Regions from separate parts of the Homo sapiens genome. Here all the other regions are linked to region 1. The links are contacts of gene promoters, found by promoter capture Hi-C in blood cells and fetal thymus (Javierre and others, 2016). All regions are on one chromosome and are shown on one strand. The core of a region is centred on a gene start or on the middle of the fragment in contact, and the rest is flanking DNA. Distances in the headings are between cores, read along the strand shown.

Region 1 (4,125 bases), core at 1-2,500:
TGCTCCAGGAACCGCACCTGGAGGGGAGCAGGGTTTGAAGATAGAGAAACTTGGATTTCATGTTCTATGATCAACTCACTAAGGTGCCTCCCACCTCTTTCCGTCCCTCTAAAGCTTTTCTGTGCACTGTGCCTGGCCCTGGGCCCCAGGAGGGGAGGTGCAGACTGAGGCACCCAAACTCACTTTTCCAGGGGGAGATAGGACACCTATCCAGGGCACAGAAAGCACTAGGAGTGCTGCTTGGAGTGTGTCCCGGCTCAGGGGTGGCTGCAAAGGCACTCAGGCTGCTGCCCATGCACTTGTCTACCTTCCTGTACAGTCAGCCCCTTTATATATGGCATGAAATTCATCTCTCTGTCCAACAGTTGTTAAGAGGCCCTTGTGAGCTAACCTCTGAATGGGAAGAAATAATTCTCCCTTCCCAGCTGCCAGTCTAATTCAGAACGTGTCCACAAATCCAGGGCACAGAAACAAACGGAAACACAGAACTGTACAACTATAAAAGTATTTGCACAAAGCCAAAACATCTTCCTTCTTTCTCTCTCTTTGGCATTTATTTCAGACCCACAGTGATTTTTTACAAAAGATCGTAGCTCACCTTGTCGATGAAGGAGGCAAACTTATTGTTGAGGGTCTTGATCTGCTCGCGCTCCTCGGTCCTCACCCTCTGGATGCTGGGGTCGATTTGCAGGTTGAGGGGAGTCAGGAGACTCTGGTTGACAGTGACCTCTTGGATACCTCCAGGAGGGCAGACAGGAAAGCCAGGGCCACCGAAGCCACCTCCAAAGCCAGCTCCGCCACCGAGCCCAAAGCCACCACCAGCTCCACCGCCGAAACCAAATCCACTACCGGCACCACCTCCAAAGCCATAGCCGCCTCCAGCACCAGCACCAAACCGGTTCCTGAAGCTGCCACCACTAGTGCTGATGGATATCCTCTTGGAGCCCCCCAGGTTGTAGAGGCTCCGGCTGCCATAGCCACCCACTCCACAAGCACCCGCAAGGCTGACCCTGCCGAAGCCACCACCACCGCCACCCCCGGACCGGGACACGGAGGTGAAGCTGGTGCGGGAGACAGACGGGGTGATGGCAGAGGCGGTGCTGAAGCTACGACTGCCCCCGCTCCGGAAGGACACACTTGACTGGCGAGACATGGTGGCTTGTTCCTGGTGGAGCAAGAGAACCAGGCACTAGTGGGTTGGGAGGTGCTGGAGAGAACAGAGCTCAGCAGGACGCAGAAGGTGGCTCTGTTACCCAGGAACGGTGATGCCCCCTTTTTATCCCTTCCAGAACTGGGCTGGGCGAGAGAGCTGTCGAGCTGTGAATGATTAAGTGGGCTGGGCATGCCTGGGGGGCAGCTGTGAGCTCACCGGTCACACCTGCACAGTGGTGTGGGGTGCAAACGCTTTCTTCCTGGCAGGCTCTGCTCAGTTAGAAATAACCTTGCCTTGCAGCACTGATCTCTTGGCAGCAAGTTGGTGACGCTGCTAGCAAGTATGTCTTCACCATAGAGGCTGGGGGCTGTGAGCAGCCCAAAAAGGATGCCAGGAACTGAGGGGGCATTGGCATGGCCAGTGTCCTGGGGACTCTTACAGGACCAGGAGTATTGACAACCATCCCAGTACGGTACATGCTGAGCACCTGCCCTTCCAGCTTGGGGAAGCTGTCCATCAGCGGGGGGCAAACGATTCCCCAGTGATCTGCTCTTACACTTTTCCAGGCAGCAGGTTGCTGCAGGGTTTTCCCCTCTGGGAAAGGCAATCTGTAGCCTTATATTCTTGGTTATGTGCTAGAGGGAAAATAGAGTTTCATCCTTTTCTGCACAATTTTTTTCTTAGGGAAGGCACAGCTATCCCAGAGCCCACTGGGCAGATCTGCCTGCAAGGTTTAGGCCAGAGAATGTGGGAAGCCCTCAGCGCCCCCTATAAACCACTTTGACCTCTTTAAGGCCAGGTTTATCCTTCCATAGCTCCTCCTAACTCAGCATTTTTTCTGCCCTTTGACCTTTTCCTTGCTCTTTGGCCTGGGCAGGACTCTGTGGGGGGTTTAGGAAACCCGGGGATCCCATGCAATCCCTTAAAAAAAAACCCTGAGACTCATGGGCTATAGCGTCTCTCTTTGGGGGTAGCTACTCTGCCGGTTCCCCAGCCCCCCAGGTGTGTTCCAGCAAGCTCTATTCCACTAGGGAAGAAATGAGTCATCGTATGTGTTGATACAGGCTGAAGGCCGCCACAAACACATACCTGCAGGAGCTTCTAATCTCATCAGGAACATGTTGAGAGTCTGACGGCCTGTTATAACGGCGAACCACCCTGTTCCAAGCAGCGGGACTTGCTCTGCTTTCTCTATGCTGTAGCCCACAGCCTCCTTCAGGGCCAAGGCAATGGAAAACGGGATTCTAAGTCTATGGATTGTCCTGCCAGAAAGGCTAGCCAGAGCAGGCCTGTGGGCCCAGGCAGCTGGCATGACAATCTGCCAGCTGCTTTAGGGAGGGCCCTTTGAGATCCCCTCTGCAAAACTTGTCTGGGGGGTTGTGGCACCAGGTGGAGGAAAGGGGGTTTCTGATGAGGTTTTAACACACGTCTGTTCTAAACCACACCCACTCTTTTTGGCAGCAGATCTGAGTGGGGCCACCTCTCTGCCGTCCCCCAAATAGAAGCAGGGCTCTCAGGCAGGACAGTGCTTGGGCTGTTCAGAGTTTCGGGGGCGCCCTGTGGCCCGAGGCTGGAGGTAGGAATGCAATGGGGATGGCTTCAAAGCCTCAGGGAGGAGGGGCTATATTCTCAAGAGTAGAAGAACAGGACCAGACCCAGGCTCAGGAATCTCTCACCAGGGCCTGCGGTTGGCCACAAGGAAGCCAAGGCAGTGGGAAAATGACTCCCTGGTGCTGAGGATCAGCTGAAACAGTGACTTCTCACCAGAGGGCTGCGATGAGCAAGCAGCTGACAGGTCAATCTCGGCAGACAGACCAATGGCCGGAGCCGGTCTTACAGGTCTTGAGCAAAATGGTTTGGGTGGCCTCCCTGGCTGGAGCATTTCTGAGACCCTCAGAGATGAATTGTGCTGAGCTCACCATTTTCACATTTGGTTGCTTTCTGGAGAACAGATGTGAGTGTCCTGGAGGCCTGAGACATACCAGGGGACCCTCGGCTCCTGATAGAACAGAACAGATCCAAGCCTGAAGCAAGTGTCTGAGGACTCGTAGTGGGATGCTCCTGCTCCACTCAAAGATCGATATCGGGGTATATCCCCACCACCACATACACTCACAGGTCCCGGGTACAGACCTCACTGCCCTCAGGGAAGCCCCACCCCTCCTGAGACACTGGGACATTCTCTTCTCCCCATTCATTCTCCTCCCAGCTGTGTTGTGAAGAAAGAGGACTTGGCAGAGCAGGAATGCGTTCTGGCTAGTCTGAGGATTGCTAGAGTGTGCCAAGCTCAGATCCATGTGCCAGGGACCAACGGTGAGTGTGTGGTGCTCCATGGGAGCAGGGAGCATGTGGGTGCTCCATGGGAGAAGCAGCAGCACTCTTCTATCCGAGCTTCGTGGGAATCCTCCCATGAGCAGGCAGGGCAGCCCCTCCCTCAATGCCAGACCTGGACAGGTATAAATAATGGAGCCGCTCCTGGTGGGGAGCCAGGCACCAGCACCACTGCAGCTCGGGAGAGTCCCACCCCAGCCTGGAATTTCACTGTGGCAGGAAGGGAGGGATTGTGTTAGGCTCACCAGGGAGCTTTCCTGCTGGGCACCCCACAGAGGCAGTTCCCAGGCTTGGTGGGACATGTTGCTCAGCTTCTCCTCTGGGTGCTGCTTTCCTTGTCAGCAGAAGACAGTGCAGGGCCCGCCCTGCTGCTCTCCCCATCAGAGAAAGGACAGTAAGCTGGCTGCCCTGACCTCTCTCGCAGAGCTGTGCAGGGAATGTAGGACCTGGTCAGCATTTCATACATGGAGAAGCCCTTCACAGACACCAGGGAGAGGGTGGTATCCATTCGTGGAACAAGGGTTAGGCAAATCCTGCCATCCCAGCCCAGGATTCCTTCTCCTCAGAGCCTCCACTCCAATCTGTAGGGCTTTAGTAGAAGATACATTTAATAGAGCATGATAAATAGAACATGTTCCATA
Region 2 (4,195 bases), core at 125-2,624, 370 kb after region 1:
CCCACCACCTTACACTCCAGTCAGCCTGGCCCTCGGTCCTTAGCCCACCTTCAGATCCCCCTACTACAGGGGAGCTCCTAGACCACCTTAGCCCAGATCAGCGGGCAGGCAGAGCAAAACCTTGGAATTAAAATATCTTCAGAAGAGTCCACAAATGCTTGGAAGACTCATCATTTTAATCCTGGGTGGTTGGGTCGGGAAAGGCAGGGTGGAGGGAAGTGGGGGATAATGGCTGGCTCATCTGGAATAGTCAAACAGGAACCTTCTTCTACACATGTAAATTTTCTAAAAAACTAAAATTCAGTCCCATAGGAAATCAAGCTTTAAAAACAAAAAGTCTACTAAAATTTAAATGTGCACACATTTTGCTTCAGCAATTCCACTTGTAGGAATTATTAAGATATCCTCACCATTGTCATAGCAAATACCAATAGAGGACTGGTTAAGTAAATTGTGGCACATCCCAAAGTGGAATATTATGCAGCTGTGAAAAAGAGTGGAGAAGCAACTTGTATACTGATATGGAAGGAACAGGTATTGGGTGAATGTTAAAGCAAGGCATGTGACAACACATATAGTACAATACCCTTCATGAAGGATAGATAGAAATGTATGCATGTATGTCCCTATGTAACTATATATAATAACTTCTACTTGGAATGAATCACAGGAAACTGGTAGCATTAATTGCCCTCTGGAACAGAAACTGGCTGACTGGGGAAGGGTCCTCTTGTACTTTTGAATTATGTATAAAGGCCGGATGTGGTGGCTCACACCTGTAATCCCAGCACTTTGGGAGGCCGAGGCCTCCTGGCTAACATGGTGAAACCCCGTCTCTACTAAAAAATAAAAAAAATTAGCCAAGTGTGGTGGCAGATGCCTGTAGTCCCAGCTACTCGGGAGGCTGAGGCAGGAGAATGGCGTGAACCCAGGAGGTGGAGCTGGAGCTGGCAGTGAGCCGAGATCATGTCACTGCACTCCAGCCTGGGTGACAGAGCGAAGACTCCGTCTCAAAAAAAAAAAAAAAAAAGAATTATATATAAAATGTATTTGTTACCTATTCAAAAAAAATTGTTGGCTGGGTGCAGTGGCTCACACCTGTAATCCCAGCACTTTGAGAGGCTGAGGCAGATGGATCACTTGAGGTCGGGAGTTCAAGACCAGCCTGGCCAACATGGCAAAACCCTGTCTCTACTAAAAATACAAAAATTAGCCAGGTATGGGGGTGCACGCCTGTAATCCCAGCTACTTGGAAGGCTGAGGCAGGAGAATCTCTTGAACCCGGGAGGTGGAGGTTGCAGTGAGCTGAGATCAAGCCATTGCACTCCAACCTGAATGACAGAGCAAAACTCTGTCTCAAAAAAAAAAAAATGTTTTCATTTATATGCGTTAAAAATCTAGTATTACTGGCCAGGCACAGTGGCTCATGCCTGTAATCCCAGCACTTTGGGAGGTCGACATGGGCGGATTCCTTGAGGCCAGGAGTTCAAGACCAGCCTGGCCAACATGGTGAAAACTCGTCCCTACTAAAAATACAAAAATTAGCTGGGCGTGGTGGTGGGCACCTGTAATCCCAGCTACTTGGGAGGCTGAGGCAGGAGAATCATTTGAACCCAAGAGGCAAAAGTTGTAGTGAGCCGAGATTGTGTCACTGCACTCCATCCTGGGTGACAGAATGAGACTCTGTCTCTAAAAAAAGGCTGGGCACAGTGGTTCACGCCTGTAATCCCAACATTTTGGGAGGCCGAGGTGGGCGGATCATCTGAGGTCAGGAGTTCGAGACCAGCCTACCCAACATGGCGAAACCCTGTCTCTACTAAAAATACAAAAAATTAGCTGGACGTGGTGGTGGGCACCTGTAATCCCAGCTACTTCGGAGTCTGAGGGAGGAGAAACTCTTGAACCTGGGAGGTGGAGGTTGCAGTGAGCCGAGATCGCGCTACTGCACTACAGCCTGGGTAAGAAGAGAGAAACTCCATCACTCAAAAAAAAAAAAAAAGCTAGGCTTAGTGGCTCACGCCTGTAATTCCAGCACTTTGGGAGGTCAGGAGATGGAGACCATCCGGGCTAACACAGTGAAACCCCGTCTCTACTAAAAATACAAAAAATTAGCCGGGCGTGGTGACGGGTGCCTGTAGTCCCAGCTCCTCAGGAGGCTGAGGCAGGAGAATCGCTTGAACCCGGGAGGCAGAGGTTGCAGTGAGCCGAGACTGCACCACTGCACTCCAGCCTGGGTGACAGAGCAAGACTCTGTCTCAAAAAAAAAAAAAGAAAAGAAAAGAAAAGAAAAAAAGAAAGGAAAGAAAGAAAGAAAGAAAGAAAGAAAGAAAGAAAGAAAGAAAGAAAGAAAGAAAGAAAGAAAGAAAGAAAGAAAAAGAAAAAAGAAAAAAAAATCTAGTATTGTCAAGAGTCAGGACACCACTTACATAAGCTTAGACTGATTCTACCTCCATGAATGGGGTTTTAAGTCCTGCCTCACAGGATCGTTGGAGACTTGAAATGAGATGACACACAAGCAGGTGAAATGGATATTTAAGAAATGTCAGCTCCTGTCCTTCCTAAGTTTCCTCATCTAAATGACCATTGGATTTCCAGCTCTTCTGTCTGTGTAGTTTCTGAAAGATAAATGGGAGGGATGGTGTCCCCTTAATGCTGGGTGACCTTGATCCCATGGTAGATGCACCAGAACCTGGAAGGAGCAAGCAGGGAGGGAGGGAAAGGGAATTCTCCCTGGAGCCATCCTGCCTTTCCCTGAGCAAACACCCAGGGCGTGGAAACTCCCAGGAGACTATCTGGTGGGGCCCCCGGCTGCCCCCAGCATGCCTGCTTCTGGGAACAGGGCCAGATAAGACAGGTGACTGGCTTCAGGGAGGATTGGGAGGGGCACAATTGAAAATATTGACTTAGGGCACCCATGGTAAGAGATCCTTCTCACTGGGTGCTGTGACTGCGCTGGGCTCTTACACCACCCACCTGATTCTTGCTGAGGGCCAGGCTACATGTGAGCAGAAGGCAGAAGGTTGGTATTGTTTCATGAAATTTTTGTTTCAGTTATATATATGTATATATACATATTTGCAGGTGGTGATAAAATGAATTTCTTACTGTGGACCACTGCCAAAATAGATCCCCTGCTCTGGATAATGGTGCTGTTAATGAGTACTACCAAAGAGTGAGATCCTCTAAGGTGACAGTGTGCAAATCCCTGGGCCTGGCCCTGGGGCTGAGTGGGAGGGGTTGGCAGTGGGGGGTTCCTGGGCTCAGTCTGGAAGCCCAGCTCCATCGATGTGGGTAGCTAGGGAGGCACTGTGTGGTAGTTAGGGAGGTGCAGAGATGGGGCCCTCAGAGGGGAGCCCAGGGGCTGGGAAGCTGAGGACCCAGAGACAGGAGCCCTGGAGAGAGACCGCACAGCAGAGCCTGACAGGAGCTTCCTGCACCAGCCTGTCCCCACTCACAGTACCCTCTGCCTGTCTCTGTCTAATCTCCATTGGTGTTTCAGAAAGTCTGGAAATGCCCCCATCTCAGTCGTGCTAAGGGCTTGTGCACTTAGCCCAATGCTGAATGGACAGGGTGGCTGCCTGGAACTCTGTGCTTGTGGCAGTGGAGCAGGACTGTGGGGATGCACTGCCCCACCCAGCTGTGTCCTAACCCCTCCTGCCCTGAACCTTGGAGGTTGTCTCAAGAGTCAGGCAGACCCCTTCACACACTGTGCACACCCATGCACACACAGTACACCCTCCACATGCAAACACAGAATGCACACACGCCCTTTATATCATACACACAGCTTGTAAAAAGGATAGGAAGGGGGTGGTGGCTGTGACTGAGTGGAGTGGGGAAGGGCCAAGTCCCACAATTTCTAGCTTCTAGAAATTGTGGGTATGACACACCCAATGGCTGAGAATAGACTCTGAACCTCTGAGGGGATGGAAAAGCCAGGATGCCTTAGTCCCTGACTGCAAAGATTGAAGGTGATAAAAAGACATGTCTGGCCACAAGGAAAGGCCATGTGCCTGGCCAAGGAGGAGTACAAGCCTGAGAGCTGGACAGCTCTGGGTTCCAATGCCAAATCTGCTAGTTTCTAGATGAGCCAACTACTTGGCTTCTCTGAGCCTGGCTTTCCTTATATGCAGATAGTCCTGATGCCAAGGTGTAGGGGAAGCACACTAAGCTCTCTGCTGATAATGCCCTCAAA
Region 3 (4,511 bases), core at 1,725-4,224, 460 kb after region 1:
GCCAAAGTGGGCGGATCACCTGAGGTCAGGAGTTCAAAACCAGCCTGGCCAATGTGGCAAAACCCCATCTCTACCAAAAAAAAAAAAAAAATTAGCCGGGCATGGTGGCAGGTGCCCATAGTCCCAGCTACTCAGGAGGCTGAGGCAGGAGAATCACTTGAACCCAAGAGGCAGAGGGTGCAGTGAACCAAGATGGTGCCACTACTCTCCAGCCTGGGTGACAGAGCAAGACTCCATCTCAAAAAAATAAATAAATAAAAATAAAAATAAATGTGTGCCAGGCCCAGTGGTCCCAGCTACTTGGGAGACTGAGGTGGGAGAATCTCTTGAGCCCAGAAGTTTGAGACCAGCCTGGGCAACAGAGCAAGACCACCTCTAAAAAATATATAAATAAATAATAAATAGATAAAACTAGATCTCATAATATCCCTCACCTACTTAAAACCCTTCCGTGACCCAGGAAGCATCCAGACTCCATGGCCAGTGCCCTGACTCTGTGTTCCAGCTCCTCTTTTTGCAGTCTCCCCTGCTGACCAGCCTCCAGCCACACCATTCACTCCACACACACACTCCTCCCTTAGCTCCCTCCCACCTCCTCATCAGCGATCTCTCCCTCACCTTCCGAGGCTCTGGCTAAATGCTCTGGTATACAGAAGGAGCTTGATGAGTATGGGGAAGGTATGGGAACAGAGGAAGGGAGGAAAAGCCATGGCGACAGGGTGACACTTATAGCAACAAGTTGTATGGTGAGGGGGGCAGGTTAAGGGATGAGGCTGCAGAGCTCCCTTGAACTATCCCTTTAAGCATTTTGTAATGACTCCTATCCCTTTAAGCATTTCATAGCAAGATCTGCACCTGTTTGAGTTATTCTGTTTTATTTCTGGCACTGCATCAATATAGCCATTTGTTTTATTAAATGACTCTGATGGCATTTTTTTTTTTTTTGAGATGGAGTCTCGATCTGTCACCCAAGCTGGAGTGCAATGGCATGATCTCAGCTCACCGCAACCTCCACCTCCTGGATTGAAGCTATTCTCCTGCCTCAGCCTCCCGAGGTACGCACCACCATGCCCGACTAATTTCTTGTATTTTTAGTAGAGGCAGGCTTTCACCAAGTTGGCCAGGCTGGTCTTGAACTCTTGACCTCAAGCCTCGGCCTCCCAAAGTGCTGAGATTACACATGTGAGCCACCACGTCCGGCACTGATGGCCTTTTTGACTTGGTGACTCCAGCTGTCCCTGAGAAAAGCAGTCTTGCCTCCCTCTGCCCCCTGGTGGCCTTCTAGGTGCAGAGACCATTGTTCCAGTCATCCTGGCTACTAGAATGGCTTTGATTTTCTGGCTTATAGCACCACCATTTGGCCAAATTTGCTAATAGGCGGCTGCTCCATCCACATTGACTTCCAATTTCTTTTCAACCTTCTCATTGGCAGAGTTCATGGAATCAGAGCCTCTTGGAGCTTAAACAACGTCAGTGGACGTAAGAGCTCTCCAGAGCCTCAAGCAAGCTTGCAGTTCATTCTGGAGGGCCATGCTAGCGGCACAGACAGAATGGCAGTGATCATGGTGCAGGAGTCGAGGAACTGGCCCTGTGAATGTCAGGCATGTGTCCCCCTGGGTTTCCTGGTCCTTCCCTATTTGCCCTTGCCCTGACACACCTCTCATCCTCCTTCATGCTGCCTCCTGCACAATGCTTCTCCAGATTGGCTCAGTCCTATTTACACAGTCTTTGATCTGGTGTTTATGTCTTTTTTTTTTTTTTTTGAGACTGGTCTCAAACTCCTGACCTTGTGATCCACCCGCCTCAGCCTCCCAAAGTGCTGGGATTACAGGTGTGGGCCACTATGCCCGACCTATGTCTTTATTTTTTTTTTTATTTTTTTTTTTGAGACGGAATCTTGCTCTGTAGCCCAGGTTGGAGTGCAGTGGCACGATCTCGGCCCACTGCAAGCTCTGCCTTCCAGGTTCACGCCATTCTCCTGCCTCAGCCTCCCGAGTAGCTGGGACTACAGGCACCCGCCACCACGCCCAGCTAATTTTTTGTATTTTTAGACAGAGATAGGGTTTCACCGTGTTAGCCAGGATGGTCTCAATCTCCTGACCTCGTGATCCGCCCGCCTCGGCCTCCCAAAGTGCTGGGATTACAGGTGTGAGCCCCTGCACCCCCGCCCGACCTATGTCTTTATAATAATACCTAATATTTATATAATGCTTTGCAGTTTATGAACTATTTTATTTTATTTTTTATTTTTATTTTTTTGAGACAGAGTCCCACTCTGTCACCCAGGCTGGAGTGCAGTGGCATGATCTTGGTTCACTGCAACCTCTGCCTCCAGGTTTCAAGTGATTCTCCTGCCTCAGCCTCCTGAGTAGCTGGGACCACAGGCACGTGCCACCACGCCCGGCTAATTTTTTGTATTTTTAGTACAGACAGGGTTTCACCATGTTAGCCAGGATGGTCTTGATCTCCTGACCTCGTGATCCACCTGCCTCAGCCTCCCAAAGTGCTGGGATTACAGGCGTGAGCCACCAGGCCCAGCCTATGAACTCTTTTATACAGAACTACCACTCTTCAAGTGCTTACTGTGTGGCAGGTACTGTGCTAAGGATTTGAAATAAATGATCCCTAAGCTTTCCAAGATAGGTAAGTATAAGTGGTCCCATGTTATGAAAAAGGAAACTGCCAGGCGTGGTGGCTCACGCCTGTAATCCCAGCACTTTGGGAGGCTGAGGAGGGCGGATAACCTGAGGTCAGGAATTGGAGACCAGCCTGGCCAACATGGCGAAACCCTATCTCTACTAAAAAAATACAAAAATTAGCCAGGCGTGGTGGCAGGTGCCTGTAATCCCAGCTTCTCAGGAGGTTGAGGCAGGAGAATTGCTTGAACCCGGGAGGTAGAGATTGCAGTGAGCCCAGATTGCACCATTGCACTCCAGCCTGGGTGATAGAGTGAGACTCCATCTCAAGGAAAAAAAAAAAAGAGAGGCTGGGTACAGTGGCTCAGGCCTGTAATCCCAGTACTTTGGGAGGCCAAGGTGGGCGGATCACAAAGTCAGGAGTTCGAGACCAGCCTGGCCAACACAGTGAAACCCCATCTCTACTAAAAATACAAAAATTTGCCAGGCATAGTGGCGCACGCCTATAGTCCCAGCTACTCAGGAGACGAGGCAGGAGAATCGCTTGAACCCAGGAGGCGGAGGTTGCAGTGAGTTGAGATCGCACCACTGCACTCCGGCCTGGGCAACAGAGTGAGACTCTGTCTCAAAAAAAAGAAAAAGGGAACTAGGGTTTCGGACAAGACCAAATGACATAGTAGAAAAAGCTTTGAAGTCAGACCAGATCCAAGTTTGAATTATTTATTTGTTGTTGAGTATCACAAACTGTCAGTTCACTCCCTGGATAAAAATTGCATGTGAACACCTCTAGCCAGGGCATGCACTCCTCAATCTTCCATAGTCTGCACCACTCCCAGTGACCTACACCACTTCGCACACTTGCCTATCTGAACCCTGACAGTATTTGAATTTGAGACCCTTAAAAATATTATTCCACTTGATCTTTAACAGGGGTTTGTAAGGAAGGCAGTAGCATAACAAAGGTAGGAGGGTAGGAGGATTCCACCCTGAGTCAGGCAAGAACGGATGTTTAGTCCGTAACGAATTTTATTTTATTTTATATTTTATCTATTTTATTTTATTTTATTTTTTGAGGCAGAGTCTCCCTCTGTCACCCAGGCTGGAGTGCAGTGGCAAAATCTTGGCTCACTGTAACCTCTGCCTCCCCAGTTCAAGTGATTCTCCTGCCTCAGCCTCCTGAGTAGCTGGGATTACAGGTACATGCCACCATGCCTGGCTAGTTTTTTTTGTTTGTTTGTTTGTTTTTGTTTTTTTGGTTTTTTTTTTTTTGAGACAGAGTTTCACTCTTGTTGCCCCGGCTGGAGTGCAATGGCACAATCTTGGGTCACCACAACCTCCACCTCCAGGGTTCAGGAGATTCTCCTGCCTCAGCCTCTGGAGTAGCTGGGATTACAGGCATGTGCCACCACGCCTGGCTAATTTTGTATTTTTAGTAGAGACGGGGTTTCACCATGTTGAGCAGGCTGGTCTTGAACTCCCAACCTCAGGTATTCTGCCCGCCTTGGCCCCCCAAAGTGCTGGGAATACAGGCATGAGCCATCGCACCAGCAGTTTTTGTATTTTAATTAGTATTATCAGTGAATTAATAATATCTGCCCTATGATTATAAAATTGAGCAGTATAAAGATATACAATGAAAAGAAAGTCTTCCTCCTACCCAGCACCCAGCCCCACAACCCACTCCAGAGGCAACCATTATTTACAGTTTTTCAACGTATAGGTGGATATCATTTTAACCTAATTTTACAAATGAGGAAACTGAGGCTTAGAGAGGTTGAGTGGCTGTCCTGAGATCACGGGCCTGATGGAGCTAACAGAGATGATATCAGATCTTGTCCTTGACACTGCATTGCCACCCTAACATCATCCTGCTTC
Region 4 (4,316 bases), core at 547-3,046, 300 kb after region 1:
GCTTTGGATACATTCTTCCCCTTCCTCAACCTGTTTTCTTATCTATGAAATAAAAAGTTTGGAGTCGATTACATCCAATGCCCCTTCTAGCTCCAGCATCCCCAGGTCTCCATTCCTTTTTCTATATAAGCAAAATAACCTGGTGCTTAAGAGCTTGGGCTATGGAACCAGATTGCTTGGATTCCACACCTAGCTCTGCTACTTCCTAGCTGTGTGACCTTAGGCAAGTTACTTAACCACTCTGTGCCTTATTTTCCTTATAGGCAAAATTAGAATGATAATAGTATTTATATTATAGGCTGTTGTGAAGAGAATCAGTTAAAGGCTTGACAGCAGTTCTGGCACACAGTTGGCACTCAGTGAGCATTAGCAAGTATTCCTCAAAGTGTTGTACATGGGGTGGACTATACTCCATCTGTCTGAGAAGGGAAGCTAGAGACCACCCAAGCTGGTGAGGCAGAGCTGACCCTAAACCGCTAGGCCTTTGTGTTCCTAAGCTGGAGGTTAGGGTTTGGCTGAAAATCCCTCTGCTGGCCTTCCACAGCCCTGGAGGAAGCTTTCTCAGGGCTCTTCGGGGCTCCTCTGAGGAGGACAGAGTGATCAGGCCGGAAGAGTGTGGGATGCATCCCAGCAACTGCCAGGAGCCCTAAGGTTGCCAAGGAAGGGAGCGGAGTGGTGACAGCCTCGGGTCGGGCCAACTGGTTTGGTAGCAGGGTGGGGAGGGCCTGAGAGGTGCAGGGTTGAGAGGCCAGCCAATTGGGGAATCACTTGGGTACAGCTTGAGGAGTGGGGTCCAGACTCAAAGTAGAGAACTGTGGAGATGAAGAGGAAAGAAGGTGATACCAAGAGACGCATGGAGGGAGGAGCAGTAAGATTTGGCGAGTGATGGAGGCAGGAGTAGGACGGAGGTAGCTTCTGGGGTGACAGGACAGAGGGCTTGAAATTGCAGCCCTGGACACTACTGACCCACCTCCAGCCAGCTGGATGACTACAGCATGAGAGGTCACTTCTGTGAGCGTGAATCGCCTCACCTGTAAACTGGAACACCACATGCCCACTACTGAACCTAGGGCTGTGGTGATGGTCACAGGCAAAGTAATGTATGTGTAAACCACAAAACCCAATTAAGTGTGGATTTTTCTTGCCGACTGGATGTGGGGGCTGAGAGAGACATCACTGAGGCCAAGAGGATAAGCTGGGAATCCAGAAGTCAGGGAGTGGGAAAGCAAAGAAACCTGATTCCTGAAAGGGCCTCTATAAGCCAGATGCTTTACACATGTTCTTATCACAACCCACTTTTACAAAGGAGGAAACTAAGGCTCAGAGAGGTTAGGTAACTTGACCGAGGTCATACAGCTAGTAAGTGGCAGAACTTGGATTTAAACCCAAGTTGCCTAGTTCTGAAGCCTAAGACCTCTCCACTGAACAAAGCATGCTGTCTGCCCCTACAGAGTTAGTGGGAGGCTGAACAGGCACCAGGGGTGGCTGGTTAATAGGCAGCCACTTAGCCAGGTCTGGCCTTGAGCAGCTTACATATTCCCTCTGAGCCTTGGTCTCCTCTTGTGAGCCATGTACAGCCCTGGAGTGGCGATGGTATCAAACTAATGTACCTAAGTAAGCATGGCGATTGGGATGTGGTGAGTGTGTGATTATTGCTGTGTCAGGCATCAGGATGTTAATCAATGGACACAATTTCAGTTCCCCAGGCAGGACAGACTGCAGCCACAGACAGCTAGCTGCAGTTGCACCATTTATTGAGACACAGACAGGGAAGGGGGATGTGGGTAGATTCAGGGAGAGGGTGGGTCTGGTGGGGGACTGGGGAGGTTGAAGGGTCTTTGGGGACCACTCCCAATTTCTCTCTCTCCTAATGGCTTGAGAAATTCAGCCTCCTCTCGGTGGTCAAAAGGTCACCCCCAAGTCACCCAAGCACATCACTCAAGCTGGCAACTTTAACCTTCCCTCCCATCCTACTGCAGGACCAAGGAGAAAACCTGAGTAGATTTGAGCGCTTCCCAAGATGCAAATAGTCTGGTATGAAAATACCCTGGGTCTGAGGTCCCCTGGCTGTTCCTGCTCCTGAGAAGTGACTGGAAAGGACAGCAGAGGTGGGGTGAGGAGGGCAGGGACAGGATTGCAGGGGCCCTTGCAGGGCTCAGCAGCTAATACCTCTGGCTGGACGTCTTGACCGTAGTGGTCTTCCGCAGGATGGAGGTGCCCGCAGAGACTGGCCCTCCCTTGACGGTGCTATAGCCCACATTTGTGCTGAATCCACCCTTGGTGGCCCCCCCACTCCCACCCAGGGAGATGCCACCTCCAAAGCTGGCTGCGCCACCTCCGCACACAGTGGTGGAGTTGCCAGTCACAGCTGCAAAGCAAAGGGTCTGGATTAGTCAGGGCGGCCATGCCAGAGAGGGCTGGGGGAGACCCAGAAATCAGTGGGGAATCAGAACAAAATCAAGCAGCAGAGCTATGGGAAATGGATAGAGAAGCCCAGAACTAGGACCCTCTGAACCTGTCTCCAGGGGCTCGAATGGAGGAGAGCATGCTTTAGGACAGGTACAGGTTGCATAAACTGAGCAGAGTTCTGGGGCCTGGCCAGGGGTGGAGCAGGAAGTGGGGAGTAAATACTCACAAATGCTGACTGCACTGGGACATTCTCCAGACATCCTAGGGGACACAGAAAGGCCAGGAGAGCAGTCAGTTATCCCTGGTGCCCACATGAAAACCCTCTCCTTCCCTCTGCCTTTACATTGGATCCACTCAGTGAATCCTGATGACAAGACCAGGAAACATGAGAAGTATGTGTATAGGGCTGTGCCCAGGTCCAAAAGCCAGTGCTGCAGAAAGGGCAGAGCCACCAGTAGGCTGTGCCAACTCCCATCCTCCCCTTTTCTTTCCTCTCTGCCCATGTGGGCTACGGACAGCATCCCTGCCCCAATGGAAACAAGCCCACGACCAGACAGAGCTGCCTAGTTTCTGCCCACTTTCTATTTCATGCTTTTCCTAAGGACAGAGATGGTGGATTTTTTTTTCCAAAGCTTCCACTGCTGGTGAAATCTGCTGGTGGAAGAGGAAGTTCCATTCCTACCGGGCTGTCAGCCACAGTAAAGATTAACAAGAGTTGTGCCAACCAAGGAGAGGAGTGATGGAGGCAGTGGGCACAAGCAGATTTTCCCCCCGCGTGAGTCAGGATCTTGCTCCCTGGTTCCTCTCTCCCTCTCTTGACCCCGGAGCAGACTCCCTGGGCTCTCCCCCAGGGCAGGCCCGACCCAGCTTTCTGGGTCGGGCAGGAGGGGCCACCACCTGCTCTCCTCGCTCTCCAGAAGCTTGCGGTAGGTGGCAATCTCCACGTCCAGGGCCAGCTTGACATTCATCAGCTCCTGGTAGTCACGCAGCAGCCGTGTCAGGTCCTCCTTGGCCTGGTGCAGGGCCACATCCAGATCCCCAAGCTTCTTCTGAGCATCCTTGAGTGCCAGCTCCCCACGCTGCTCCGCTTCCGCAATGGCCGTCTGCAGCTGCTGACACTGCCCAGGGGAGAAAGGTGTTGGAAGCACCCTCCGGGGTCATCCCATTCATCTCTCTGCCCTCAAGCCATGGAGACATCATCATTCCCACATCCCTGCCCCCAACCAGCTGGGAAAGAGAGAAGAGAAATATTCATCTGAAGAGATGCTATTACACAAGCAGGATCAAGTAAGGCCACTGGGAAAGTCCTTACTGAAGTCTAACCTCAACCCCTCCTGCTGCAGATCAGCCCAATGCCTCAGAAGAGATGAAATAAATAACACAGCCTTATTAGTAACCAGGTGCTTCATTCTAATCTGTGAAAGAACCCACACTTTTTAGCCGTTCTAAAGGTGGAGTCGGCATCAGCATCTGTGACCTGGCCCCTTGAACCCTCTACCTCCTGTTCTGACTTCCTGGAGATGGGATGGATCAGTTTCCTTGGAGAAGGTTGTCCCACCTGCTCTACCACTCATATACCATGTGACGTTGGACAAGCTCCTTCCTGCTCTGTGCCTCAGTTTCCCCCCATGTAAAAGGAGCCTGTGATCAATGGCCTAGCATTCTATTGTGTCCGTCAGGAGAAGAGCAGGCCTAGCCCCTCGGGGTGACAATGAGAAGGCCCTGCCAACACCTAGGCCAGACCCCCAAGCCCCCAGTAGAGTCCCACCTGCTTCTTGGCTGCATCAGCCTCCCCCTGCAGCCTCTGGATAGTGCGGGTGAGCTCAGCAATCTCGTTCTTGGTGTCCCGCAGGTTGTCCCCATGCTTCCCAGCAGTCACCTGCAGCTCCTCATACTGGGGACCAAAG
Region 5 (4,386 bases), core at 1,659-4,158, 430 kb after region 1:
ATGTGCCACGGTGTCCTCCTGCCTCTGCCACACGCTTCTGATTGGGGAGGAAGGAGCCTAGAGAGGTTACACACAACACATCCCAGCTCTGCCACCTACTAGGATATCACTTTTCAGGTTGCAGCTTAAATGTCACTCCACTCCCCCAGAATCTCAAGCAGGATTAGTGTTTACTGATTTGGGCTTCCATTGTTCCCTGGACTCACCCAGGCATAGCACCAACCACACTTTAGTGCTATTGCTTGTTTAATTACTGATCAGCTTTACTAAACTGTCTCATCCTAAGGCAACCGTCCATCAGTTCTGCGACCTAACAACCGCTTGGCCTCCCGATTTCTCCTGTCCGTCGCTGATAAACTGCTTGAAAGAAAAGTCTACATTTTGCCTCCACTTGGTCCTCTCTCTCCTCCCTCTCAGTCCACACCCCGGCTCCAGGCTCCATCGCTCTACTGAAAGTGCTCTTTTTGTCCTCAGCCTCCCTGATCCTTTTGTGCACCTGGCCCTGTGGGCCCCCCTTCCTTGAACCTCATTCTTCTTGGCTTTCATGACGTCCTCTCTCCTGGTCTCTTCCTGGGAACTTAGAGATCTAGGCCTTCTCCTCTTTCTCCTCTTCTCCCTCTGTCTCTTCCTCTTCTTCTTGCCTCAAGTCCCTCTGTGCTGACTCTGCTCCTTCTTTTCCCTGATCCTTTCCCTTAGGCCACCTCACCCACAACTGGGTTTCACCCAAATCCTTGAGGGGGATGCTCCAGGTGGGCCCGTTGCACGTGGCCGTGCAGGGTGTTCAGTGTACAGGCACACCCTGCCAGGAAACAAGGAAGAGGCTCCCTCTCTGCAATTTGTGTAAAGGCCCCGCAGGTTAGCTGTGACCCTGGCATCCATACCTCCTGCCCCATGCCTCTCCCAAGCTCCAGCCCTGCTCTCCTAGCTGCTCACAGGATAGTTCCCTAAACACTGCTGGCAGAACCTGCCCAGCCTAGGCCAGGAAAGAGGCTGACAGAGACAGAGCCGGCTGACTGGATGATCTGGAGATAGGTTCTTGGCCACTCTGTTCTTCCATTTCACCCCCCTTTTCAAAGACTCAGTCTTAGCCACCCTGCCCTGAGCCCATGTTAGATGGAAAAAAATAGTGGTGAGCAGGGAGCAGAAGGCTGGAGAGTAGTAAGTGCAAAAGAACAAGGGGGCTGGGAAGAAAAGGAGCAAATGGGGCAAAGCAGACAGGAGGGGAGGTCAGCTGGCTTCTCAGCTGCCAAAGCTCTTCCAGGCACGTCATCTCATTTGGTCCTCATGAAAACTCTCTAAGTGGATATTACTATTTTTCTCATTCTACAGCTGAGGAGAGACCAAGCTAGTAAAGGCTGCTCAAGATCACTAAGCCAGCAGTGGGGAATATTGTGAAATATTGAAATATTTTATTATTTCATAGAGACAGGGTCTTGTTATACTGCCCAGGCTGGTCTCAAATTCCTGGCCATAAGCGATTCTCCCACCTCAACCTCTCAAAGTGCTGGGATTACAGGCATGAGCCACCTGGCCGAATCCAGGTCTTTTGACACCAAGTGCCCTATTCATCCCTTTGCCCTCCCCTAATCTCTGGGCAGATTTGAGTGAGGCGATAGGCTGGGGGATATGGCATTGGGATACTGGGGTTGCACCTGAGGAGAAGCCAACAGCACCAGGGTCAGAATGGGCAAAGGACATAAGCACAGGCAAGGCCATTCCTGGTGGGGCTGGGCCAGGGAGCTGAGGGGCTCCTAGAAGGGCCAGGTTCCCCGACTTCTCTGAGCTTCAGCGCCTGGAGGTTTCTGGGCAGCCACACGCTTCTCAGCGCTGACCCTTCCTCTTCCTTTATCCTTGGAAAATAACCCCTAGGGCACAAACCCAACCGAAGCAATGATACTAAGTGTCAGGGCATTCCTCGACTCTCCCACCCCTGGGGAAGAGGGCCTGGCCCAAGCCCTGAGAACCCGTTCCCACCTCCACAGGCAGTGCCAGGGACTCCAAATAGGGTGCTGAAATTCCAGAAGTCTTGATATCAGACTGGGTCCTGCACCCAGCTGCCACCCGCATCCTCCCCCTGCTCCGCAGCTGCCTCTGAAGCTTGTACCCTTGCCCCCACCTCTTGTCTCTCTGCAGTCTACCTGACTGCACTTTCTGATGACCCCCACTGACCTCTCCTAGCACCCCATGTTTATTAATTACTTAAACCTAAAGTATTTACGGAGCTCCACCTATGTGCCAGATGCAGGGCTGGGCAGGAGGATTCCCATTCCACCCCAGATTCCTTTTCCTTTGGGTTCTACCCCAGATCTCCCTCTGTCTCAACAGCTCTACCCTTAACTCAGCAGCCCTGGGATTTCTCCTGTGGGAGGGCCCCCTGCATGGGTATACCCTCCACTGAGAGTAGCTGAAAGGAGCCCAGGGGAGCCTCCCAGGCGATCCCTTCCTCCCTCCAGCCCACCCCACCACAGGGCCTTCTCACTGTCTCCAACACACTGGAGTCACCCTCAGTCTTTAAAGAAGAGGATGGGAATCAGTCTCTCCCTGTTTTGTGTATAGACCCCATCCTTACACCTCAGTTGCTGTTCCGAACACCTCCCTCCTCCAGGCTGAGCAAGGAATTTCCAGCCTAAATGTTAAAGCAAAGGCGGAAGGACTGCAGGCCTTCCAATCCTCCCTAATCCTCTCATCTCTCCACCACCTAGTTTCCCCAGAGCCATCAGCTCAAGCCCTTTGTGGGAGAATGTGGAGTGGGCAGTAAGAGCTGACCCACCCCTATCGGGTCATCTCTGAGTCTACTCTGAAGTTAAACCTGCCTCACAGGTTCCCACTCCCCTTCTGCTGGACGCTGGAATGCAGGACTGATGGTGGGTGGAGAACCATTTCCCCTCTTTCCGGATTCCCCCCTGCCGAGGCTCATTACTCTTTGTGTCTGTTCTGGGAGCTTCTCACCAGGGCCCCTCCTGCTCCACCCTTTCCCGGGACTGTCCTCACAATCACGCCATCCCCCTTTCCACCTTGCTTCCCACCCCCACCCCAGAACCCTAGTGCTGGGAATCTGGAGGCCGAGACCTTCACCCCAGCTCTCCAAGAGGCTCTCTGACAAAGTGAAAAAGCCCTGAGCCACAGAGGAATCTGGAAGTGGTGGAAAGGGGCAGGCTGGTGCTGGAAGCCCGAGGTCGGTATTTGCCCCATGCTGCAAGAAGTCAGGAATGTGGCCATCGACATCAGTAGGAGAGATAAAGTCTAGCTGGCAGCTCTCCCTCTCCAGCCCCCACGCTGCACCTCCACAGGTCCCAGAAGTTTCCTAGCAGTTGGGGTGGGGCAGGAATCAGACAAGGACCTGGGAATTAGCTTGGAGAAAAATTCTAGAATCTGTTTTGATTGCTGGTAGATTTCAAAGTGCCCCAGGGTTTTTAAATGACTCAGAGAGACAGACTTCAAACCCCTTGAGCCCGTCTTTCGAATTAAATTGACCCCCTTTATCTGCCCTCCTGTATATATTGAAGCCTTCCTTACTTTGAAGGAAGGCTCCAGTACAAATAATTAGTATTTGTTTGATGAATGAGTGAGTGACAATTTACACTCACATTCACTGCCACCTGAGGAAATAGACTGGACAGGTCTTACTGTTTTCCCTGTACAAGTGAAGAAATTGAAGTTCAGAGTTAGGTGACTTCCCCAAGGTTACACAGCTAGCAAAGTATCCAGGCTGGCTGACTTAAAGCTTAGCAATAACAGTAAAAGGCAGTACGTAGCTTGTTGACTCCACATACTTTATTATAAAATACTGCCCAACTTGACAGTTCTGGAATCCAGTGGGGGAATATAAAGGTGAAAGCAGGAGAGACCCCTCTGACTGGAACCTCTTACCTCCCAGAAGCCTTGTATGCAAAACCAGTGGGCATTCATTTGTATGTTATTTTGCATCCCGTTTGCCTCCCAGCCTTCAGCAGGCCCCGACCCTCCCCTGGCCAGCTTCCACCCTGACTGCCCCCTGGCTGGCTCCCATTGAGCACTGTGGGGCTCTCCCCACCATTAGGTGACAGATCAGGAACAATCCAGGCTCAGGCTCTTTATCTGTGCTCTGCCTCCCACCTGGCAGGTCCACTGGCCAGGCTTTTCCAGGGTCCCTTCTCTCCCAGGTCTGCCCTACTATTTGTCCTCCCCTTCCCCCTCAGCTGGTAGCTCGATAAGAATCAATAGGTCCACTCCAGAGCAAAGAACACAGCCAAATGTGTCATACCAGGCCCTGCCAGAAAAACGAGCTGCTGGAGCTGACAAACTTGAAGGCCAAACACCTAAGGGTTCCCCCCAACACTTCATTCAGCAGGGATGGTCATTCAGCTTCAGGGGGCAGGCAGCATGAAAGCCTCCCTACCTCCATCC
Region 6 (4,591 bases), core at 1-2,500, 390 kb after region 1:
AATTTTCAGGAGGGCAGAGGTGCATGATGATAAGCAGGTGTTTTTGAGCACGTGTCTTTATATGCATGTATCCATATAAATACAAAGCACACATGTTTGATGGGTTATCTCCCAGAACAAACAGCCTCACAGGCCCACCCCCCACCCTGTGGGCACACAACCTCAGCCTATAGCACACACGCCCTCTTGTCCCTCACACACTCTCTCAGGTTCACACACACCCCACCTGCCCTCTCACTTGCATGGCCTGACGCACACGCCAAGGTGCAGTACCACCTCACATCCTCATCTCAGGCACAAGCATGTGCGTGTACCACCCGTCAGAGTCCCGTGCACACCACCTTCCTACGAACGTCACACACATACCTGTGCACACACAGCCATATATAACACACATCCAAACTCAAATACACGGTTACAGGTTTGTTTGTTTTTTCTTTTATACAGACAGAGGTTTCACTATATTGCCCAGGCTGGTCTCAAAATCCTGGCCTCAGGCTGAGAGAGGTGGCTCATGCCTCTCTAATACTAGCACTTTAGGAGGCCAAGGCCAGCTGATTACCTGAAGTCAGGAGATCAAGACCAGCCTGACCAACATGGTGAAATCCCGTCTCTACTAATAATATAAAAATTAGCTGGGCATGGTGGCAGGCACCTGTAATCCCAGCTACTCGGGAGGCTGAGGCAGGAGAATCGCTTGAACCCAGGAGGCAAAGATTGCAGTGAGCCAAGACTGCCCTATTGCACTCCAGCCTGGGCGACAGAGCGAGACTCTGTCTCAAAAATAAAACAAACAAAACAAAAAAAAAATCCACCGGGTGCAGTGGCTCACGCCTGTAATCCCAGCACTTTGGGAGGCCGAGGCAGGCGGATCACCTGAGGTTGGGAGTTCGAGACCAGCCTGACCAACATGGAGAAACTGTCCTTACTAAAAATACCAAAAAATTAGCATAGTATGGTGGCGCATGCCTGTAACCCCAGCTACTCAGGAGGCTGAGGCAGGAGAATTGCTCGAAGCCAGGAGGTGGAGGTTGCAGCGAGCTGTGATCATACCATTGCACTCCAGCCTGGGCAACAACAGTGAAACTCCGTCTCAAAAACAAACAAAAAATCCTTGCCTCAAGCAATCCTCCCACCTTGGCCTCCCAAAGTGCTGTGACTCCCAAAGTTACAGGTGTGAGCCCCAGCTCCCAGCCAAAGGATACACATTCTTGATTGCAAGTGGCTGAAACCCAACTCAAACAGACTTAAGCATAAAAAGATCATTTCTTATAATTGAGAAGTTCAAGGGTGCATTTGGCTTTCAGCCTAGCCAGATAAGGGGCTCAGTGATATCATCAGGACCAAGACTCTCTTCCTGTCTTTTGGCTATTTTCCTCCATGTTAGCTTCGTCCTCGGGCAGGCCATCTCCCTGCTGCAGGAAGGGCGACCACTAAGGGAGCACCTCTTTCCCGATGCTTCCTGCTGAAGTTCCAGGGCTGACTCTCCAAGGCTGATATAGGTCACATGCTCATCTCTGAACCAATCCCTGTGGCCAGGGGAATAGAATACTATCATGTTGACTAGACTAGACCACATAACAAGACCCTGTGGAGGGGTGATCAGCCCCACCCAACCTATAGAGAAAGGGGAAAAAAAATGTGATTTGGGCCAGGCGCGGTGGCTCACGCCTGTAATCCCAGCTCTTTGGGAGGCAGAGGTGGGCGGATCATGAGGTCAGGAGATCGAGACCATCCTGGCTAACACAGTGAAACCCCGTCTCTACTAAAGATACAAAAAATTAGCCGGGCGAGGTGGCGGGCACCTGTAGTCCCAGCTACTCAGGAGGCTGAGGCAGGAGAATGGCGTGAACCCCAGGGGACGGAGCCTGCAGTGAGCCGAGATCTCGCCACTGCACTCCAGCTTGGGCAACAGAGCAAGACTCCATCTCAAAAAAAAAAAAAATGTGATTCACCAAAAGACCAGGAAGAAATGCTGGACAGGGCCAGGAACCATGCCTCACGCCTGTAATCCTAGCACTTCAGGAGGCTGAGGCGGGTGGATCACCTGAGGTCAGGAGGTCGAGACCAGCCTGGTCAACATGGTGAAACCCCATCTGTACTAAAAATACAAAAAAATCAGCCGAGCATGGTGGTGCATGCCTGTAGTCCCAGCTACTTGGGAGGCTGAGACAGGAGAATCGCTTGAACCCAGGAGGCAGAGGCTGCAGTGAGCCAAGATCCCACCACTGAACTCCAGCCCAGCCTGGGTAACAGAGCAAGACTCCGTCTCAAAAAAAAAAGAAGAGAAAAGAAAAGATAAACAAATGCTGGACAGGCAGAAACAACAGATGTTCACTACATATGCTAACCAAAATGTACACCAATAAAGACGTGGAACCAGAGAAGCCAGGTATAAAGATATCCGTGTACACACCGAGCCCTTCTATAAATACAAATACTACCTGGCCAAAGTCTACCTTCTGTACCTTATCAACGGAATATTGATTTCAGATAAATAAATGATTCAGATGTATGCTATAGGACTTCAGGGGAAGGAGAGAGCCCTTAGATCAAGCTGAGCTTAGGAAAGTAAGATATGGATGGAAAGATCTGGAAATGTGATAAGCCACTGGACAGGAGCGGGATTCCTATGGAAGAGTAGAAAAGCTAGATATTGGGGAGGAGGGTGGGACTAGGGGTTTCAGAGGCCAGACAGAGCTTTTTCTGCAGGCTGCAGGAAGGGAGGAGCAGGATGATGAGCTTAAAGCAGTGCTTTAGGAAAATTAAGCTGGCTGGGGTGTTCAGGATAGATGGTAGGGGCAAAAACTAGGGGCAGGAGACTAGAAAGGGGGCTACTGCAGAAAGCAGGTCTGGAGGCCTGCAGTGTGGTAGGAGCAGGAAGATAGGGATGGACTCAAGCTAGAACCAACAGGAGGTGGCAGTTGACTGCATGGGCGTGAGTCCAAGGTCACTCAGCTGCACTTCTAGCAGCTCCCTGCTGAACCCTAGCACCTTCTGTTCCAGCTAGACTGTTCCATGCACTTGCCATGAGCCACTGGGCTTACCATCGTGTCATCCAATCAGTTTTAGACACAGCTCCTTGGAGACAGAGCAGGTTCCTCCAGCGTCTGTGTCTGGTTCCTGTCTCAGTGCCAGCATCTGCCCAGCAGGGTACTGGCCCAGAGTAGATGCTCCAGAGTAAATGTATAGACCCTCCCCTGAACATGCAGTTTATACTTGCCTCCTTAGCTTGGTTCATCCCACACACACCCCTTCACTCTGGTAACAGCACGATGAGGCTGTCTCAAAACCCACCACAGTCCTCAGCAGCAGAAGCAAGTGTGGACAAGCCCGCCTTCTCGCATGCTGACCATGCTGGAGCAGGGTATGGCTTTTGTCTGACTCTTAGGACTGACTGATGCAAGGAGGTGCCTGGGATAGAGAGGAGAATGGGCACCATATTCCAGTGAGACATAGCGCAGGAGCTGGGAGTGCCAGCCCTGGAGAAGAGGTTCCCAATGTGTATAGAACCTCAGGACTGCCTGGAGGAATAGGGGACATTCATCGGTGTGACCCAAGGGATATAACCAGCACCAATAGGAAGGATTCCCCCAGAGAGAGACTTCTGCTCCCTGTAATCAAGGACTTCCCAAAAGTTGGAGCTTTGTGAAAAGAGAGTCTGCGGCCGGGCACACTGGCTCATGCCTGTAATCCCAGCACTTTGGGAGGCTGAGGTGGGTGGATCACTTGAGGTCAGGCTTTCAAGACCAGCCTGACCAACATGGTGAAATCCAGTCTCTGGTAAAAAAATATATATATACAAAATTAGCCGGGTGTGGTGGTGGTGCACACCTGTAATCCCAGCTACTTGGGAGGCTGAGGCAGGAGAATTGCTTGAACCCAGGAGGTGGAGGTTGCAGTGAGCCAAGATCACACCATCGCACTCCAACCTGGACAAGAGTGAAACTCCATCTCAAAAAAAAAAAAGAAAAAAAAGAAAAGACTGAGTGTGGTGGCTCACACCTGTAATCCCAGCACTCTGGGAGGCCGAGGGGGGCGGATCATCTGAGGTCAGGAGTTCAAGACCACCCTGGCCAATATGGTGAAACCCTGTCTCTACTAAAAATATAAAAAAGTAGCTGGGCATGGTGGCACATGCCTGTAATCCCAGCTACTTGGGAGGCTGAGGCAGGAGAATTGCTTGAACTCGGGAGGTGAAGTTTGCAGCGAGACAAGATTGTGCCATTGCACTCCAGCCTGGGTGATAGGGCGAGACTCTGTCTCAAAAAAAAAAAAAAAAAAAAATTCGCCAGGCGTTGTGGCAGGTGCCTGTAGTCCCAGCTATTCAGGAGGCTGAGGCAGGGAGAATTGCTTGAACCTGGGAGGCATAGGTTGCAGTGAGCTGAGATTGCGCCTCTGTACTCAGCCTGGATGACAAAGCAAGACTTCATCTCAAAAGAAGAAGAAGAAGGAGAAGGAGGAGAAGGAGAAAAAGAAGAAGGAGAAGGAGAAGAGGAAGAAGAGGAAGAGGAAGAAGAAGAAGAGGAAGAGGAAGAAGAAGAAGAAGGAGAGGAAGGAGAGGAAGAAGAAGGAGAAGAAGAAGAGGAGG

What was found. Contacts are between HindIII fragments. The CHiCAGO score rates a contact against its expected background, and 5 or more counts as called.
Region 2: a fragment that was not itself captured here is called in contact with the fragment with the promoter of KRT5 in region 1 in 1 of 17 cell types (non-activated CD4 T cells); the score reaches 5.6 in non-activated CD4 T cells.
Region 3: a contact is called between a fragment that was not itself captured here and the fragment with the promoter of KRT5 in region 1, in 1 of 17 cell types (non-activated CD4 T cells). The highest score is 6.0, in non-activated CD4 T cells.
Region 4: a contact is called between a fragment that was not itself captured here and the fragment with the promoter of KRT5 in region 1, in 1 of 17 cell types (fetal thymus). The highest score is 5.5, in fetal thymus.
Region 5: a contact is called between a fragment that was not itself captured here and the fragment with the promoter of KRT5 in region 1, in 1 of 17 cell types (erythroblasts). The highest score is 5.1, in erythroblasts.
Region 6: a contact is called between a fragment that was not itself captured here and the fragment with the promoter of KRT5 in region 1, in 2 of 17 cell types (M1 macrophages and naive CD8 T cells). The highest score is 5.4, in M1 macrophages.

What each region holds. Positions count from the first base shown.
Region 1 is chr12:52,519,144-52,523,268 of GRCh38, forward strand. It overlaps KRT5 (keratin 5), which reads right to left and starts at 1,251. Exons shown (of 9, transcript NM_000424.4): 1 at 599-1,251; 2 at 1-17. The coding sequence starts at 1,153. RefSeq lists enhancers at 1-338, 3,158-4,123. The HindIII fragment of the contact is 4,587 bases long and covers 113-4,125 here.
Region 2 is chr12:52,892,680-52,896,874 of GRCh38, forward strand. No RefSeq gene overlaps it. Among named protein-coding and RNA genes, the nearest start is that of MIR9898, 4.2 kb to the right of the region's middle. RefSeq lists silencers at 1,333-1,511, 2,426-2,720. The HindIII fragment of the contact is 2,110 bases long and covers 320-2,429 here.
Region 3 is chr12:52,979,728-52,984,238 of GRCh38, forward strand. No RefSeq gene overlaps it. Among named protein-coding and RNA genes, the nearest start is that of EIF4B, 24 kb to the right of the region's middle. The HindIII fragment of the contact is 692 bases long and covers 2,629-3,320 here.
Region 4 is chr12:52,819,710-52,824,025 of GRCh38, forward strand. KRT79 (keratin 79) reads right to left here. Exons shown (of 9, transcript NM_175834.3): 6 at 4,178-4,303; 7 at 3,307-3,527; 8 at 2,636-2,670; 9 at 1,699-2,368. The coding sequence ends at 2,163. Among named protein-coding and RNA genes, the nearest start is that of KRT4, 7.8 kb to the left of the region's middle. The HindIII fragment of the contact is 2,485 bases long and covers 555-3,039 here.
Region 5 is chr12:52,942,858-52,947,243 of GRCh38, forward strand. It overlaps a transcript of KRT8 not described here. Among named protein-coding and RNA genes, the nearest start is that of KRT18, 4.1 kb to the right of the region's middle. RefSeq lists enhancers at 898-1,492, 2,682-3,277 and a silencer at 4,228-4,386. The HindIII fragment of the contact is 1,627 bases long and covers 2,096-3,722 here.
Region 6 is chr12:52,913,443-52,918,033 of GRCh38, forward strand. It overlaps a transcript of KRT8 not described here. Among named protein-coding and RNA genes, the nearest start is that of KRT8, 11 kb to the left of the region's middle. The HindIII fragment of the contact is 8,808 bases long and covers 1-4,591 here.